2 separate regions of the Homo sapiens genome follow, and region 1 is linked to region 2. Evidence: promoter capture Hi-C in 16 types of primary human blood cells and fetal thymus (Javierre and others, 2016). All regions are on one chromosome and are shown on one strand. Each heading gives the region's core, a stretch centred on a gene start or on the middle of the fragment in contact. The rest is flanking DNA. Distances are from core to core; before and after follow the strand shown. Region 1 has its middle 31 kb from the start of TMEM14A. Region 2 holds the start of LINCMD1 (long intergenic non-protein coding RNA, muscle differentiation 1).

Region 1 (4,900 bases), core at 197-2,696, 490 kb before region 2:
TGTGATGGTAAACAAATCAACTTCTATGAGTGCCAATTTCCACATTAATAAAAGATAACAGAAACAGGTGCCTAGCGTCAGTGCCTAGTACTTAGTACAGGCTGATTAAATGTGTTCATTCATTAAAGACAATGGTTGTCAGCTTTGGCTATCCATTAGCATCTCCTGGGAAGCTTTTAAAAACCCTGAAGACAGGCTGTAGATTAGACCAATTACATAAGGATTTCTGAGTCTGAGACCCGGGCAGCAGTATTTTTTTTTAATTCTCCCACACATCCCACTTGAGGTTATTCCACTGTGCAGCCAAGCCTGATAACCACTGATTTAAGAGGTTTACATTAGCTATGTGCTTATTTTGTACTTAATCAAGGGTCAAAGGCACTTGTTTTAAAAGTATCACTCAAAGACCCAGAATTAAACTTGGACTACACTCCCTAAGAATTAATTTCTCCAATTTCCAAAGAGTGCCTATTCCTATAAGCTCATCTAAAATGAAAAATGGCCCATAAAATATTCCTTATTTGGTCAAAGAGAAGCATATGTTAAACATTCAATTCAACAATTTCTATTGAGTACTGTCCAGTTACAGAGAACTGCACTAAACCAAAAGTCTCCATTGTCAAAAAATAATGCTTAAGTTCAAAAGGCACAACACAAGTAAAAAGCAATGCTTCATAAAAACAAAATAAAACAAAACAAAATGAACACTTCCTTCCCTTGGAAATTGACGCCTTTAAGCACACACCCTGCCAGCTTAATTTTCTGCTGATTATCAGCTCTCCTACTGCCTATAATGAGGGGCTTAAGAAGAGGAAGAGCAGCTGGGAACAGGAAGTTTGCAATGATGTGGGAGGTTTACTGGAAAATTATCTGCTAAGGAAATCATTTCAGTGGTCAACATTGCTAACAAAAATACATCGCGCTGACAAAAATATTGAACAAGCTTTGTGCTCAGTGAGACAGTGTTTTGTTTTCTCCACATTGAAGGATTTAATTTCAAATGCACCAAGGTGCTCTTGTGAATAGTAAAATAAAAACATATTTAAAAGCTTTGCTGAATTCATAATCAGATATGGCTATGTAATTTCCCAATCTATTATATAGGATTGAATACATTTTTCCAGCTTTATTGATGTACAATTGACAAATCAAATTGTATATATTTAGGTGTACAATGAGATGTTTTGATATACATACATGTTGTGAAATGATTACCACAATCAAGCTAATTAGCATAAACATCACCTCACATGGTTACCATTTTCCTTTTTGTGGTGAGACCATTTGAAACCTACTCTCAGCAAATGTCACAATATAATACCACATGATTACCTATGGTCACCATGCTGTACATTAGCTCTCCAGAACTCATTCATTCTGCATATTGAAATTTTGTACCCTTTGACCAGCATCTCCATGTCCCCAACCCCTCAGCTCCTGGCAACCACCATTCTACTCCTTACTTCTGGGACACAGTGTTTTTAATGTAAAACAAAAATACGTGACATTTTGTGTGTACATTCATGAATTTCTTTCCCATTTTGGGGATACCCTTGACATAGTCTAGAGATGATTTGTGTGTCTGCTTTTCTTTGCTCTCTGCTCTTTATTGGTTGCTCCTAGGCTGGAAAAGAGATGTAACCTCAGGAAGCAGGTGTGTGAAAGACGATCCAACTCGGGAGAATCCATGGACAGCTGGCCCTGAATCTTAGCCCTGCAAGTGATTGCTGTGATGTTCAGGTCCAACGTCTCAGGTCTCGTTCATACATCTCCACCTCTCACCGTCACTCACTGGATCCCAATATCACAGGCTGTGCAGAGGGAAGATTACTCCAAAGCTTGTTTTCTTCACATCTAGCCAACTAGTCTGTTCTCAAAAGAACTGAAAGGGATGTCCAGCCTTGATGGTCAGTCTGCTAGGAAAAGACACAGAGCCAGGAAGCCAGGGTTCAAGATTTGGTTTTATTCCTTACTGACTATATGATACCAGACAAGCATTGAGCCTCTTTGAGCCTTAGTTTCCTCAGTATAAAATGAGGGATACTAGTATTACCTACCTCTCAAAATTGTTGTAAAGATTTAGTGAAATGTAAGCTGTACAAATGACCAATGCCTTTTTAAAAATACTCTGAACCTGTTTTTTTTTTTTTTTAAGTTTGGAAATCTTAAACACTTAATAGAAAAAATTTGTAAGTGATGACTGAAATGAACCAAACTTTTTCTACAAACTTTAGCCTACAAAGCTCCCAGCACACACCTTAGCACAACCCTGCACCTTCTAAATAGGCAACACTGAACACTCCAGGGAGAAAGTCAGATTTCAAAGCGCTTTACCTTGTTCTTTCCTCTTTTCCCGCCTTGGCCTCCCAGGTAATTTATTACAGAGATCTGGCAAGGCTTCACAGTGAATGAAGCCTGGTGGTGCTACAGCGGGTGACAAAGGCAAACCGGATCCTGTATTTAAACAAAACTGAAGGAAGTGCAGAGAGCCCGCGTTTGGCTCTCCGCGAGGTCTCCATATGCTGGCCCTCCCGTGCACACACTGGGGAGCATTGTTCACAGTTTGAGAGTCATCGCTGCAGCCTGCACTGACGTGAGTCTCCACCATCAGCTAAGAGGAACACTGGTCTCCCACACAGCAGCCAAATCCAAGATCAGTGCTTCCCAGGGAGCACTAGAAACCAAACATAACAACAAGAAATGACTTTCCAAACACCCTTTCACAGAGAAAAATAGAGAGTACAAACAATATTTTCATCATTAGTAGTTATAAAATATTCATGATGTTCTAGGGAGATAAAAGGTAAGGATATCTCACCCCTCACCCATCCCCACCTACCTTGACCCATCCTTCCCAACCTCACCTGTAAAAGAGTTCAAATTGGACTTGTATAAATTCCCCCAAAGAGTGTACCTACTTCTGAAATACAGAGGAAGGAATGTTCTTCATTCTTACCTTCTGTTAAGGAGTTAAGAGAAGGTAGTACTATTTACTAAGTTCCTGGCATATACCAAGACATTTTCTTTTTTTCTGTTTTTTGTTTGTTTGTTTTTGTTTTTTGTTTTTTGAGACAGGTCTCCCTCTGTCACCCAGCCTGGAGTGCTGTGATGCAATCATAGCTCATTGCAGCCTACAACTCCTAGGCTCAAGTGATCCTCCTGCCTCAGCCTCCCACGCAGCTGGGACTACAGGTGGATCACCACGCCCAGCTAATTTTTTTTTTTTCTTGGTAGAGACAGTTGCCCAGGCTGCTCTTGAACTCCTGGCCTCAAAGGATCCTCCAGACTTGGCATCCCAAAGTGCTGGGATTACAGACATGAGACATTTTCACAGACAGTATTTAATCCTTTTTATGACACTTTGAGATAGGTATTCTTATGCCTATCGATGTGGAAACTGAGGGTCAGAAAGATTAAGAAACTTATTCATGGCCATGCACAGTAGTCATGCCTATAGTCCCAGTGAGAGGTGAAGCTGGCTGGGCTTCTGGGTGGGGTGGGGACGTGGAGAACTTTTCTGTGTAGCTAAAGGTTTGTAAACACACCAATCAGCACTCTGTAAAATGCCCCAAGTGGGCGGATCATGAGGTCAGGAGATCGAGACCATCCTGGCAACACGGTGAAACCCCGTCTCTACTAAAAATATTAAAAAAAATAGCCGGACGTGGTGGCAGGCGCCTGTAGTCCCAGCTACTTGGGAGGCTGAGGCAGGAGAATGGCGTGAACCTAGGAGGCGGAGCTTGCAGTGAGCTGAGATCGTGCCACTGCACTCCAGCCTGGGCAACAGAGCGAGACTCTGTTTCAAAAAAAAAAAAAAGTGGACCAACCAGCGCTCTGTAAAGTGGACCATTCAGCAGGACATGGGTGGGGCCAAATAAGGGAATAAAAGCTGGACACCCGAGCCAGCAGCGGCAACCCACTCAGGTCCCCTTCGACACTGTGAAAGTTTTGTTCTTTTGGTCTTCACAATAAATCTTGCTGCTGCTCACTCTTTGGGTCCGCACTACCTTTAAAAGCTGTAACACTCACTGCGAAGGTCTGTGGCTTCACTCCTGAAGTCACGAACCCACCAGAAGGAAAAAACTCCGGACACATCTGAACATCTGAACGAACAAATTTCGGACACACCATCTTTAAGAACTGTAAGACTCACGGCGAGGGTCCGCGGCTTCATTCTTGAAGTCAGCGAGACCAAGAACCCACCTGAAGGAACCAATTCTGGACATACTAGCACTTTGGGAGGCCGAGGCGGGCAGATCACCTGAGATTGGGAGTTCAAGACCAGCCTGACCAACATGGAGAAACCCCGCCTCTACTAAAAATACAAAACTAGCCGGCCATGGTGGCACATGCCTGTAATCCCAGCTACTCAGGAGGCTGAGGCAGTAGAATCACTTGAGCCTGGGAGGCAGAGGTTGCGGTGAGCTGGGATCGCACCATTGCACTCCAGCCTGGGCAGCAAGAGTGAAACTCCATCTCAAAAAAAAAGAAAAAAAAAAGAAAGAAAAACAAAAGAAAAGAAACTTATTCAGAGTCACATAGAAAACAATTGGTAAAAACAGTATTCTAACCTAAATCTGCCTCGTTCTCTCTATTCATTTATCTTCTAAAACATGATGCAGAGAAGTATTAGTATAAACTATCGCTGTAATTCTTTGCTTGGTGAAATAGCAAAAATATTGAGATTATTTTAGAATAAATAATTAGTCCTGGGTATCTTCTTCTAAAAGGCAATGTTTACTAGTGGAAAAGCCCTAAAAGATGACGCCCCGCTGATATTTAAAAATGACCAAATTTATTCAATAGATCTCAATGAGTCAAATTCTGATATTCCATTGAAATCCCTGAGAAGGCAAGAAAATGCTACCAAATCATGAGACCTGTCAAGGGGAGAAGAAAG
Region 2 (4,462 bases), core at 551-3,050:
AGGACTGATGATGATACAGGAACACACATAAAGGGACACAGCAGCAATCACAAAACCACACACCCCACTGGGTGGCCTAACCTAGATTTCTGCCCTGAAGAGGGGCTGTGGCAGGATGAGCAACCGCAACCCGTGGGCAGCAGTCCCCATTCTCTGATTCCTCTTGATTTCTTACGGAAATGGAGAGTTTGGGCTTGTGGGACCTTTGAACATGGATATCAAGGTCATTCAAACTTACCAGAAAACATGTTTTCTTAAAGGTTCTGTCTTTTTATAGTGGTGAGTGGGAGCAGGAATACATTTGCTCCCCTCCTGGTTTAAGGAAAATCAAACAGAAATGTGAATGGAAGTTGAATTCTCCAGGAGTGAATAAGAGGGGACAGTACGATATTTTGACTTTGGAGGCAGGCTATGACTAGAACTCCTTCCATCCTGTGGCCCTCAAAGATGTGTTCTGCAAAGACCCTTGAGGGCAAGGGGATAGGTAGAAAGTTGGATGACAATGTTCACTCATGTTCTCCAACCCTTGCCAGAAGTGTGCTAGCTTGCTCCCCTTCCCTCTCCTCCCCTCCTCTCCTTTTCTTTTTCTTTATTCCTTTCTCTCTCCTTCCTTCCTTTCCTTTACCTTCTTTCTCTCCCTCCCTCCCTCTCTCCCTTCTTAACTTCCTTCCTTCCTTCCCTCCCTCTCTCACTCCTTCCCTCCCTCTCTACCTCCCTCCCTCTTCTTTCCTTCTTTTTTTTTCTTTTGTTTTTGAGACAGGGTCTCACTCTGTCACCCAGGCTGGAGTGCAGTGGTGCCATCGCAGCTCACTGCAGCCTCAATCAAACTCCTGGGCTCAAGCGATCCTCCCACCTCAGCGTCCCCATCCCTGTGCCCAGCTAATTTTTGGTATTTTTTGTAGAGATGGAGTTTTGCTCAGGCTGGTCTTGAACTCCTGAGCTCAAGAGATCCGCCAGCGTTGGCCTCCCAAAGTGCTGGGATTTATAGACAAGAACCCTCATGCCTGGCCTGGCTGGCTTCTTTCTAACAGAGAGAAGACATTATTTAGTCTTAGCCTTATATGTCTTGTCCAGTTTTATCAGGCATTTTAGCCATAATATCCCAAATATGAAAGTGACCCTTTTTTAACACTCCTTTTACCTATACCTGGCATTGTTATCTAATCTTTACCTACATGACCTCTGCCCTTCCAGATGGAAAAGATCCCTCCTGTTAAGGACAGCTGGTATTTGGCCACATCATGTTTGTTTTCTGTTCTGCCAGGTGACTTCCGGGTGACAGCTCTGCGACTGCGCTTCAAGATCACCCTGCTTCTACTCCCAGAGGCATACCCCTAGTTCGCAGGGAAGTTCCATTTCATCACAGACCTGGGAAGCAGAGAGAAGCTTGTTGCCATCCTTCCCCCACACCTTACTACTGCTTTGAACCAGTGTGCTGCATTGAAAGAGATAAGTAGAAATAGTTGAACCAAAAATTACATGATCCCATAGTTTGTGCTTAAAATAAACAAAGAAGCTGATCTTTCAGTGAACATGTTTTTATTGAACACCAACTTAATTTCAGGAACATTTCAGGTACATTGTCAGAAATAAAGACTCTTAAGAATGTATTATTATGTACCCAATACTGGTTTCAGGCCTTTACATGTATTCTCATGAAACTCTATGAAGTAGATATTATTATCAATATTCCTACTTTACAGATGAGGAAACCCAGGCCTGGAGAGGTCAAGCAACTTGCTCAAGTGGCACAGCTGGAGAGTGGGGAGCTGGGACTTGAGCCCAGGTAGTGTGTCCCCAGCACCTTCAACTAAACTCCATTCTGTGCTGCCCTTTGGAACACCCACTCAATGGCCTTCACACTCCATGTCCTACTTGGGAGGACATGTGATCTCAACAGCACTCACAAATGAAGGCTTTCCAGACAGGATATTGAAGATGGTAAGATCAGTCTCATGTATAAAGCATTTTTTAAAAGTAAAGCATATTATATGCTAGTCATATGTACTAGGGTGAATGCATGTATGCTACATGCTAGTAGAATTAATAGTTGGAATATAAAAATACCCTATAGGCTGGGCACGGTGGCTCACATTTGTAATCCCAGCACTTTGGGAGGCCAAGGCGGGCGGATCACTTGAGGTCAGGAGTTCAAGACCAGCCTGGCCAACATGGTGAAACCCTGTCTCTACTAAAAATATAAAACTTAGTCGGGTGGTAGTGGTGCGTGCCTGTAATCTCAGCTGCTTGGGAGGCTGAGGCAGGAGAATCGCTTGAGCCTGGGAGGCGGAGGTTGCAGTGAGCTGAAATCGTGCCACTGCACTCCTATCTGGGCAACAGAGTGAGACCCTGTCTCAAAAAATAAACAAAAACAAAAACAAAACAACAACAACAAAAAACAAAACCCTACAGTGAGCAATGAGCCTTTATGTATTTTTTGAGTTCTTCTCCTATTTTTTTTTTAATTTGGCTCTTTCCTTCTACATACAAGTGCCTGTGGACACAGCATTGTCCTTGTGCTGTTGCCATTTACAGCAGTAAAACAACAGCTACTATTTCTTAAGGGCTTATATTTGGCTCTTTATTAACACTGTCTGTTTTAAGCCTTACGGTAACTGAGGTTGGTATCATTGTCCCCATTTTACAGATGAGTAAACTAAGGCTTGTGCAATGTTAATTGAGCTGCGGAGAGGATATATCACAGCTAATAAATTAGAGGGGCAGCATTCAACCCCAGGTCTTCCTGAATGCAAAGATTTGTGCTAGTAAGCTCTGTGTTCTCCTCTGAGGTCACTGTGGTGGGCTCTAGGCACTTATGCTACCCCATTTGTGTCAGAATACAGCATGTGAACACACATGTCTATAGAATTTTAAACCCAAATATTTACTTATTACTGTCTAAGTTCCAGACACACACCATAAAAGATACAAATCTTAAAAGATAAACTGGAAGGACAGGTCAGAATTCTCCCTTAGTAAAAGGTAGCGATTATGAGAACTTAGCTCATTACAGCCTCCATCTCCTGGACTTAAGTGATCTTCCTGCCTCAGCCTCCCAAGTAGCTAGGACTATAGGTGTGCACTACCGCATTCAGCTAATTAAAACAAAAAAAATTTTTTTTTGGTAGAAACAGCATCTTGCTATGTTGACCAGGCTGATCTGGAACTCCTGGCCTCAAGCAATCCCCTGTCTTAGCCACCCCAAATGCTGAGATTTTAGGCATAAGCCACTGTGCCTGGTGTGACAGGTACTATTATCCCTATTCTACAGATCAGGGAACTGAGAAATGATTGCTTAGTGAATAGATATCTTGGGCTGAATAGATCAATAGAGACTTGATGATACATAATGTGCTAGGCATATTTGGTGGGATAGGTAAGAATTATGCCTTGGAACTAGCCATGCTATAACTTGCAATTCAATTGGATCACACCATATATACATGTCTAATTTCTTTCCTTAGACTGTTAGCCCCTAGTGAGCAGGAGCCCTGTCTTCTATGTCTCATGCTCTTCCCCTGGCTGGCTTAGGGTTGGCACAAACTCCATCCTCAAACTCTTTCTTGACTGTGTGTCTGTCAAAAGCATGTAAGTGGCTGCAGCTGTGAGTGCAAAGGCACAGAACAGTGTGTGTTGAGCATTAAAATCTTGCTCACTTTTGACTCCAGGACTCCTCTTCTCTTCCTTCCTGGGAGCATAAGAATATGGTGAAAAAACCAGAATTGTTTTCTCAAGGAAAGTTTTAGTAGGTAATTTCAGTTGCAGTTGAATCTCTTCTGTTTCTCCAAGGACTGGGCATTGCCAGCCCTGCTGTAGCTGGTTGAAGGGGACCAAACCTCTCAGGAAGACGGACTTGGTTCCGTTTGACCAGCCAGAGCAGGGGGCATCTTTCTTCTGAGGTGACTGCAGCCTCTAGTGTGCAGGTATCTTGGTGTGTCTCAAGCATCATTTGTCTAAGCCTGTAATGCAAAAAGAAGCAGCATTAGCATCTGTCAAATGCCAGGAGCTTGCCTTGTCCAGAATGTCCTCTTACATGATTTGTACATACATCTCATACAATTTGTACATACAAATCATACATAATTTGTATTTCATGTTGCATGACTTCAATTTATTTTTTCTTTAATCTTTAATCTTTTTTCAAATAGAAACATCATGAAGATCAAATATGCTATAGAATTATAGAATATGAAAAATGACAGTATGCCATAATGCTTCCTCTTCCCATTTTCCGAAAGAAATGTAACATTTTGGCATATATTCTTTGAATGCTTAACATTTTAATTTCTTTAAATTATGTTTTTAATTCAAGTATGATATATTTATAAAAGAATATTTATAATATATAAGTGATGGTACATAATGGTAAAACCAATACCCATGAACAACGATCTACTTTTTTTTGTTGTTACTTTTTTGAGATGGAGTCTCACTCTGTCACCCAGGCTGGAGTGCAGTGGCG

Evidence for each region. Contacts are between HindIII fragments. The CHiCAGO score rates a contact against its expected background, and 5 or more counts as called.
Region 1: a fragment that was not itself captured here is called in contact with the fragment with the promoter of LINCMD1 in region 2 in 2 of 17 cell types (naive CD4 T cells and non-activated CD4 T cells); the score reaches 5.2 in naive CD4 T cells.

Annotation. Positions count from the first base shown.
Region 1 is chr6:52,637,925-52,642,824 of GRCh38, reverse strand. No RefSeq gene overlaps it. Among named protein-coding and RNA genes, the nearest start is that of TMEM14A, 31 kb to the left of the region's middle. The HindIII fragment of the contact is 789 bases long and covers 1,052-1,840 here.
Region 2 is chr6:52,148,361-52,152,822 of GRCh38, reverse strand. It overlaps LINCMD1 (long intergenic non-protein coding RNA, muscle differentiation 1), which reads left to right and starts at 1,800. Exons shown (of 3, transcript NR_131248.1): 1 at 1,800-1,941. MIR133B (microRNA 133b) reads right to left here and starts at 3,900; the gene lies at 3,782-3,900. The HindIII fragment of the contact is 4,773 bases long and covers 1,389-4,462 here.